Regions from separate parts of the Homo sapiens genome. Here region 1 is linked to region 2. Evidence: promoter capture Hi-C in 16 types of primary human blood cells and fetal thymus (Javierre and others, 2016). All regions are on one chromosome and are shown on one strand. Each heading gives the region's core, a stretch centred on a gene start or on the middle of the fragment in contact. The rest is flanking DNA. Distances are from core to core; before and after follow the strand shown.

Evidence for each region. The method cuts DNA at HindIII sites, captures the fragments that hold promoters and counts their contacts. A CHiCAGO score of 5 or more calls a contact.
Region 1: a fragment that was not itself captured here is called in contact with the fragment with the promoter of ANKS4B in region 2 in 4 of 17 cell types (naive B cells, total B cells, total CD4 T cells and 1 more); the score reaches 9.5 in naive B cells.

Annotation. Positions count from the first base shown.
Region 1 is chr16:21,562,877-21,567,373 of GRCh38, reverse strand. No RefSeq gene overlaps it. Among named protein-coding and RNA genes, the nearest start is that of METTL9, 34 kb to the left of the region's middle. The HindIII fragment of the contact is 1,772 bases long and covers 522-2,293 here.
Region 2 is chr16:21,231,100-21,235,721 of GRCh38, reverse strand. It overlaps ANKS4B (ankyrin repeat and sterile alpha motif domain containing 4B), which reads right to left and starts at 2,023. Exons shown (of 2, transcript NM_145865.3): 1 at 1,821-2,023. The coding sequence starts at 1,984. LOC105371123 (a long non-coding RNA gene) reads left to right here and starts at 2,120. Exons shown (of 2, transcript XR_001752344.2): 1 at 2,120-2,230. The HindIII fragment of the contact is 3,732 bases long and covers 1-3,315 here.

The sequences.
Region 1 (4,497 bases), core at 158-2,657, 330 kb before region 2:
AGTTATCCAAGAACTGATGGTTACCTACCCATGCTCTGCTCTTCTGCTGCTACTTTCTGGGCTCTGAGATGACCACAGAGGCCAGGGTCAAATGCTGGGCCACTCACCACATACTGATGATGCTGTCAAAATGTGGTTACCCTTCTGCTCCACCTCAATTATCTGTGGAAAACCTAATTTAAGGGGTATATGGTGTTTTGTCTGCCCGCATTTCTTCCTGTAAGAAACACGCTTTCCCCTCTTCCCTAGTAAACTGTCTCAGTCCTTACGAGTTGGTGGAGCTGGACTGCCTCACTTCCATCCCCAAGGTCAGGTACATGCCCAGATCTGGTCAGAGGACTTCATGTGTCAAGGTACAACTACTGCCTCAGCCATGAGCACTTGACTCATACAGTGCCCATTAGCGTCCACCTGGGGACTTTTTCTGTGCTACTGGAACAAAAGTGCATGTTTCCTCACCATCTTGGGCTGTTAGCCCTATGTGAACATGGAGGTATCTTGCTGCCATGCGATGAAAAGCTTATACACAACGCAGAGGGTAAGTCAGAGAAACTAGTTAATGACATAATTTGAGATCCAAATCTGCCTGACTTTTCAGCTACAGAAGCCAATAAATTCCCTTTTTTTTCTTTTTTTCTTTTTTTTTGAGACAGAGTCTCACTGTCGCCCAGGCTGGAGTACAGTGGCGTGATCTTGGCTCACTGCAACTTCCACCTCCCGGGTTCAAGTGATTCTTCTGCCTCAGCCTCCAGAGTAGCTGGGACTACAGGCGTGCACTACCATGCCTGGCTAATTTTTTGTATTTATAGTACAGGCAGGGTTTCACCGTGTTGCCCGGGCTGGTTTAGAACTTCTGACCTTAGGTGATCCACCCGCCTCGGCCTCCCAAAATGCTGGGATTATAGGCATGAGCCACTGTTCCCAGCCCGAATTCCTTTTTTATTTAAGCTAACCTGCATTGAATTTCTGTCACTTGTAGCCAAAGTGGTTTGAATAATGCACCTTTCCAATTGGCACTTGTGCCCAAATTACCATAAACTGGCTGTCTCTGACCACTCTAGGGAAAGGATTCAGTGATTTCTAATTGACCACTACCAGTGAAGACATGGGAGGTTTGAAATAGCTGAGCCCAGATTCTGAGAACGACAGGACAAGGTCATGATTGTACTTTTGAACTTGATGTTGGAGGTGTTCACAAGCATGACGCCTCTCCTGGACTTTGTTTACTGATAGGAACCACAAGATAGACGAGACAGCAGAATTAGGCCAACAATGGGTGCAAGGTGCCAAAAAGGTAATAGAAACCCAAGTTCCACTTTGAAGCAGCATAAATCAGACATTTCTCAAACATTAAAAACGGAAGTGGCCTGATCAAGACCTTTAAACGGAGTAAAAAGCCACGAAGCCAAGGCCTTGAGCAGCTAGTCAGAGAATTATTGCAATATGTGCTCAGAGACACAGGGTTTCATGAAAAGCCCAGTCTCTGCCTGGCTGCAGCACCTCTGTGCTTTTTGTCCCAGCATTTGCTTAGCAGCAGAACCTCATTATCCTTCAGTGTTCTGTAGTTATAACAGATTCCAGCTTCAGGGGGAAAAAAATGGATTCCAGCTGCCAGGGGTTCTCTCTGGGAGATTTTCTATCTCTGAGACGAAATTGTCTTTTTCTCCCTTTTTTCATGGTGAGAGGGGCATGGAGTACACCTCTGATAATCTGCAGAGGCAAAGCCTTGCATGAGCATGCTGACAACCCTGCAGAGAGAAAGCCTTAGGCTGGAAGTTCAAGGGCAGCCAGGAGAATGAACATTTCGATGAATAAAGCAATTTGATAACTACCATGTTGTGGTCTAAGACCCACCACTTACAGGCTTACATGGTGATTACTGAAGCTGCAACTATTTTAATGGCTTCATCTACTTTAAAGTACTGGTGATTTTTCTACTACTTCATTTAATTGCTTGATGTTTCTTGGAAGAGTTCTTCGGTCTTTCTGCTAAAATGTTATCCCAAGCTAGGAGAGATGCCATGATTTCAGAGAATTTCTTTTCCTCTATAATATTATATATTTTCCTCTGGGTTATCAATGAACCTACTGACTACTTTGAGTATTATGCCTTTAGGATGTCTTCACCTCTCATTTCCTTAACATTTTTAAATGAATCTCTGATAGAAAAATGAATCTGAAGCCTTGCTTATGCTTTGATTCATTCAACAAATATTTATTGCACACTTACTGTTTTAGATGCCTGGGATACAGAGTAAATAAATCAACAATGATCCTTGCCTTCAACAAAGCTTACATTCTGGTGGAGGCAAAGAGATAATACATAAATAAATTTAATATCATCTTTTGTAATAATAACCATTACACCTCTGCTTATGAAAAAAATTGCATTCAATTTTTGCTCACAATCTTCTTTTTTTTTTTTTTTTTTTTGAGACAGAGTCTCACTCTGCCACCTAGGCTGGAGTGCAGTGGCATAATCATACTTCACTGCAACCTCTGCCTCCTGGGCTCAAGTGACCCTCCTGCATCAGCCCCACAAGTAGCTGGGACTACAGATGCATGCCACAATGCCCAGCTAATTTTTCTATTTTTTGTAGAGATGGGATTTTGCCATGTTTCCCAGGCTGGTCTTGAACTCCTAGGCTCAAATGATCTGCCTACCTCGGCCTCCCAAAGTGCTGGGATTACAGGCACTGAGCCACTATGCTCAACTAATCTTCTGTTCCCTTCCTTCCTTCCTTTTCCTTCCTTCCTTCCTCTCTCTCTCTTCCTTCCTTCCTCTCTCTCTTCCTTCCTTCCCTTCCTTCCCTTCCCCTCTTCCTTTCTCTCTCTCTCTTTTCTTTCTTTTTTCTGACAGAGTCTTGCTCTGTCACTCAGGCTGGAGTGCAGTGGCACAATCTTGGCTCACTGCAACCTCCACCTCCTGGGTTCAAGTGATTCTCTTACCTCAGCCTCCTGAGTAGTTGGTATTACAGGCACACACCACCACAGCCAGCTACTTTTTTTTTTTTGTATTTTTAGTAGAGACGGGGTCTTGCTATGATGCCCAGGCTGGTCTCAAACTCCTAGACTCAAGTGATCTGCCTGCCTCAGCCTTCTAAGGTGCTGGGATTACAGGCATGAGCCACTGCACCCAGCCTAATCTTCTATTCTCAAAAGAAGAAAGTATCCACCCGCAGGTAACAGAATTCTAAAATATTACTGTCTGGACCCTTTTACTTCATTTTCCTAGCTTATACCTGCCAAATTATTGGTAAATTCAGCTCTGTGAGGTGAAGAGGGCCATATAAATGATCATACTCTCACCTTGAATCCTATCTTTAGGATCTTCTACATCACGAGACTAAAGCAAAGTCTGACTCCTTTCCACTCTTCTGCTATCAACATCAGCTCAAAAATACATAAAATTAATAAGGTTGCTTCCTGATGGCATCAGTGAAATAACTTTATGGTCATTCATATAAAAACAGACAACCCTGGCCCAGCGCAGTGGTCCATACCTGTAATCCCAACACTTTGGGAGGCTGAGGCAGGTGGATCACTTGAGGCCAAGAGTTTCAGACCAGCCTGGTAAACATGGCAAGACTGACCCTATCTCTATTTAAAAAAAGAGAAATACAGAGAATCCTTTCAAGATCACCAAGTCAGTATCAATGAGCACCTCTGCAGAAAAAACAGGAGCTCAGAATGGACAAGGCCAGAGAAACCTCAGTAAGGTGAATGTGTCCGTATAGTTTCTTTCGAATTCGTGAAAAGAAAACTTGAGTCCCTATAAACTGTTGCTACTTCAAGAATAGAGAGGGAATTTCTCCTTTCTGGGCTCAGCCTGACATGTCCCTTTTAAGAATAATGGTGTGAGATGCATCGAAGGCTTACTATTTGCCTGGCTCTATGTCTTAGCTTGGGCTGCCATAACAAAATATCATAGTACAGGTTGGGTAGCTATTTATATATTTATTTATTAAGAGGGCCTTGCTCTGTCACCCAGGCTAGAGTGCAGTAGACCAATCATAGCTCACTGTAGCCTCAATCTCCCAGACTCAAGTGAGCCTTCCATCTCAGCCTCCCAAACAGCTAGGACTACAAGAACACACCACCAAGCCCAGCTAATTTTTTTAAACTTTTTTTTGTAGAAACAAGGTCTCACCGTTGCCCAGGCGGGTCTTGAACTCTGGGCTTCAGCCTCCTCCCACCTTGGCCTTCCAAACCGCCAGGATTATATTGTGAGCCCCAAGACCCGGCCTAGGTGGCTTAAACAACAGACATTTATTTCTCACAGTTATGAAGGCTGGGAAGTCTGAGATCAGGGTGCCAGCATGGTTGGATTCTAGTGAAGACTGTCTACCTGGCTTGTAGACAGGAAACTAGCTTCTTGTATGGGAGAGAGAAAAGGAGGGAAGAGGATAAGGGAGAGGGAGGGAGAAGGAGGGAGAGGGAGAAGGAAGGGGAATGGGGGGAGAAAGAGAGAGAAAGGGAGCTCTCTCATGTCTCTTC
Region 2 (4,622 bases), core at 774-3,273:
AGGGTGTCAACATCCAAAACCTGGGACCTTAACCCTCCTTTTCCTTTATCTGCCCACATCCAGTCAATCATTATTGATTCTACATCCAAACTGCCACTCAAATCCAACCATATCTTCCCATTCCCAATGTCACTACCCTAGTCCAACTCATCTCGACCACTAAAACAGTCCCCAAACATTCTCTCCGACTGTTATCCATCTACCTGAGTGAGTTTTGTAAACATAAATCTACTCTGGCAGCTTCCCTACCCAAGACATGGCTTCCTGGGCCCTTAGGATAAAGTCCTTACCAGAGTTGACAAGGCTCTTTGTGATCTGGTCTTATCTCTTATACTTGTCCTGACCCCACTCCTACTTGAACCACATCCAGCCATACTCAGCTTCTCTAGTTCTCAGAACTAGAGCAGTTTTCCATCTTAGGGAAAACACTCTTTCGTCTAGCCAACTTGTTCTCATTTTCCTAATCCCAGCTTAAATGCTTTCCCCTTAGGGAAGCCTTCCCTCACCCCTGAGATTGAGGTAGATGCCTATTTAGTGCCCTCTATTTCCCTTTTTGTAACAAATATCATAGATGAGCCAGGCACAGTGGCTCACAGCTGTAATCCCAGCACTTTGGGAGACCGAGGCTGTCAGATCGCTTGAGCTCATAAGTTGAAGACCATCCTGGGCAACATGGCAAAACCCCATCACTACAAAAAGTACAAAAATTGCTGGGCATGGTGGTGCACACCTCTTGTCCCAGCTACTCGGGAGGCTCAGATGGGAGGACCACTTGAGCCTGGGGCTCAAGGCTGCAGTCAGCTATGATCTTGACACTGCACTCCAGCCTGAGTGACAGAGTGAGACCCTGTCTCAGAGCAAACATGCACACACACACACACACAAATATCATAGATGTCTTGTCTTCCCCTCTCAAATCTGCTCACTATGACAGGGACTGTGGCTGTCTTGTTGATCACAGTGTGCCCAGTGGCTAGCAAAATATCTCTTATCTTAAGAGATAAGTGGCTGGCACATAACAAATACTGAATAAATGGGTATTCAATTGGATTCACTTGGCTCCTTTATTTACCTTGTCCTTTTCTCTTTCTTTACCCCTCTTGGGTTACGGTTGCCAACACAACCTAGCCCTCTGATAACAGGCAGAACAAGCAGAGGAACTAGCTTACTCCTCCATTAAAATCTGGGCAAAGAGATGGGGTGTGTGTGTGTGTGTGTGTGTGTGTGTGTGTGTGTGTATCTATCCACTAGCCAAAGAAGTGATAGAGTTAAGATAGGCTAAAGAGTCCTTGTAGAGCCAGCAACTCCATTCAAAAGAGCAAGACCCTGTGTCAAAAATAAAAAATAAAAAAATCATGAGCTTGCACTGGGATTGAAAGTTAATAAAAGACTGTGAGATTTTGATGGCATAGATAAAAAAAAAACTAAAACCATGTCATTTGTTCCAACCAAGGTTGGCAACTTAAAACCAAGTAAAACAATGGCCTCTTTGAAAAGAGAAAACTATTTAAATTTCATGAAAAGCATTTTTAAAGGCATAGAATTAAAATATCTTCCCTCTTCCCCATGCAGATAATGCCGTAGTTCAGGGTCTCTCCTCTGATTGTGGCTAAGGGATGAGCCACTCCTATAGTGCCAGTCCTCAGTGAGAAAAGAGAGCATCTCTAGGCATAGTTTTCTCTCTTTCTCTAAAAATCCAATCATTTAGACAATCTAGAAAGAGGATAAAGTATTTGTATTGACGTCCCTGCCTCTTGCTGCTGTCTGCAAAAACCTACCATGAACACTGTTTCCAACAGAAACCATCGGGTTGAACTTACCCTCTACTGCAGATTATCTCTAGGGCTTCCAAGTTCCCATGGTAGGCTGCCAAGAGAGTAGGAGTCATGCCGTCTTCATCCGAAAGATTTAGATCTCGCTTGGTAGCCTCTTTTAGAAGTTCCAGGTAACTATCACTAGCAGCTTGGTGGTAACGAGTAGACATTTTTCCTGCTCACCAGAACTTGGCCAGATGTCTCTCCAGGCAGAGCAAGGTGTTGGCGGAGCAACCTTCCTATAGAGCTGGTTAATTAGTGACAAGGAAGAGTGTCACCAGGGGCAAAGCTCATTTCAACTGCTTCCTTTCACGGAAGGCAACAAGGTTCGAGGCACTGAACTTGGACCTTTTCTCTCTGGAATGGCCATGACGTTGACTATTGAAGACTGCTGTATTCATCTTGAGTGTTTGGAGGTACATTCAATTTTTCTATGTCCATTAGTTTCTTGAGTGTAATATTGGCCATCTAGGCACAGGATGTAAGAAATAATTTCTTAATAAAATGCAGAGCTACTCTAGTTCACTAGCTGTTTTTTCCAAAAAGAACAGCTTTATTGAGGTATAACATCATTAAATTTACCCATTTCATGCATACAATTCAATGATTTTTAGGACATTTATAGAGTTGCATGCCCATTATCATAATCCAGTTTCCATCAGCCCTTAAAGATCCCTCATGCCATTTGCTGTCAATCCCATTTCCACTCCCAACCTCAGGAAACCACAGTCTGCTTTCTGTCTCTATAGATTTGTTTTTTACGGGCATTTCAGACAAATGGAATCCTACAATATATAGTCTTTAGTGTATAGCTTGTTTCAATTCACATACTTTTTTGAGGTTTGTCATGTGTAGCATGTAATGGTTTCTTTCTTTTCACTGCTGAATAATATTCCACTGTGCTAACATACCACATGTTCTTCATCCATTCAATGTTTCATGAATATGATGAATATTTGGGTTGTTTCCATTTTTCAGTAATGATGAATAATGCTGCTATGAGCACTGATGTACAAGTCTCTGTGTGGACACATATTTTCATGTGTCTTGCGTATATATCAAGGAGTGAAACTGCTGGGTTGCATGGCAATTTACATTTAAATTTCAGAAGTTGCCAGACTGTTTTCCAAAGTGGCTGTACTACTTCACATTTCCACCAATAACGTATGAGGGTTTCAATTTCTCCACAACCTTGCCAGCCTTATTATTGCCTATCTTTTTGTTTATGGTCATCCTAGTGGATATGAAGTGGTCTTATTATGGCTTTAATTTTCAATTTCCTAATGACTAAGATATTGAGCATCTTTTCATGTGCCCATTAGCCATTCTTACATCTTCTATTCAAATCTTTTTGCCCAATTTTTAAGTGGTTGTCTTATTAATAAATTATAAGAATTATTTATATACTCTGGATACAAGTCCTATATCAGACATATTTGGAACAGAATGAAAATGAAAATACCACATATCAAGATTTATAGGATGCAGTTAAAGAAAAGCTTAGGGCAAAATTTGTAGTTTTTTATGCATATATGAGAAAGAAAAAAGATCTCAAATCAATAACTTAAACATATTATCAATAACTCAAGGGAAGGAGAAAAAGTATAGAAAAATGACTATAAGGAGTACAATATAAGACCAAAAAATTTCCAGATCTGTAATAAAAACAAAAGAAAATGGACTAAATTTATGATGTGGAAGACTCAGCCATGTCTTGTTTATAATAGACATATCTAAAATATAAAATTGCAGAAAGATTGAAAGCAAAAAATGGAAAAGTTATAGCAAGCAAATACTAACAAAACATTGGTGTACCCACATAGATGGTCTGCAACTTATGAGAGTTTGACCTAATTTTTCAACTTTATGATGGCACAAAAATGACAGGTATTTAGTATGCTTCTCAGCTCACAACTGAGTTATTATATCAACTTATGGTGGTTTTGCATTGTAAGTTGAAGAGCACCCGTATTGGTAGCAAGGAAAAATATAGCTTAAGCCAAAAAAATTTACTAGGCATAAAGAGAGATAATACATGATAATGAAAGGAACAATTAATCAAGAAACTATGATCGTTTTAAACTTGTATAAATTAAATAACACAGCTGCAAAAAAGGGAAAGCAAAAATTAAACAGAAAAAAAAAAACAAAACCACAATCATAAGGGAAGATTTCAGACATCATCATAATGTTCTATATCAGACTAAAGATTGGTATAGCTATAAAATATTTGGGCCGGGCACAGTGGCTCACACCTGTAATCCTAGCACTTTGAGAGGCTGAGGGGGTGCAGATCACGAGGTCAAGAGATTGAGACCATCCTGGCCAATATGGTGAAACCACGTCTCTACTAAAAATACAAAAATTAGCTGGGCATGGTGGCATGTGCCTGTAGTCCCAGCTACTCGGGAGGCTGAGGCAGGAGAGTCGCCTAAACCCGGGAGGCGGAGGTTGCAGTGAGCTGAGATCGCACCATTGCACTCCAGCCTGGTGACAGAGTGAGACTCCATCTCAAAAAAAAAAAAAAAGAAGAAAAACAGATTTGAACACAATTAACAAGCTTGATCTAACAGTCACATGGAGAAAGGACCCTGTGCCCAATAGTAAATGCATGTTTTTTCTAAGCACACAGAATATTTATAAAACCTGACCACTGAATAGAAGCAGTGCAGTTCTCGACAAATAACAAATAACAGGGTTCATGCAAACCGTGTTCTCTGAAGACACTGCAACTAAATTAGAAACCGCCATCCTTACATAACTCATCAACTATGCATATGTTCTCCTGTGGTGTATTTTTTACATTGT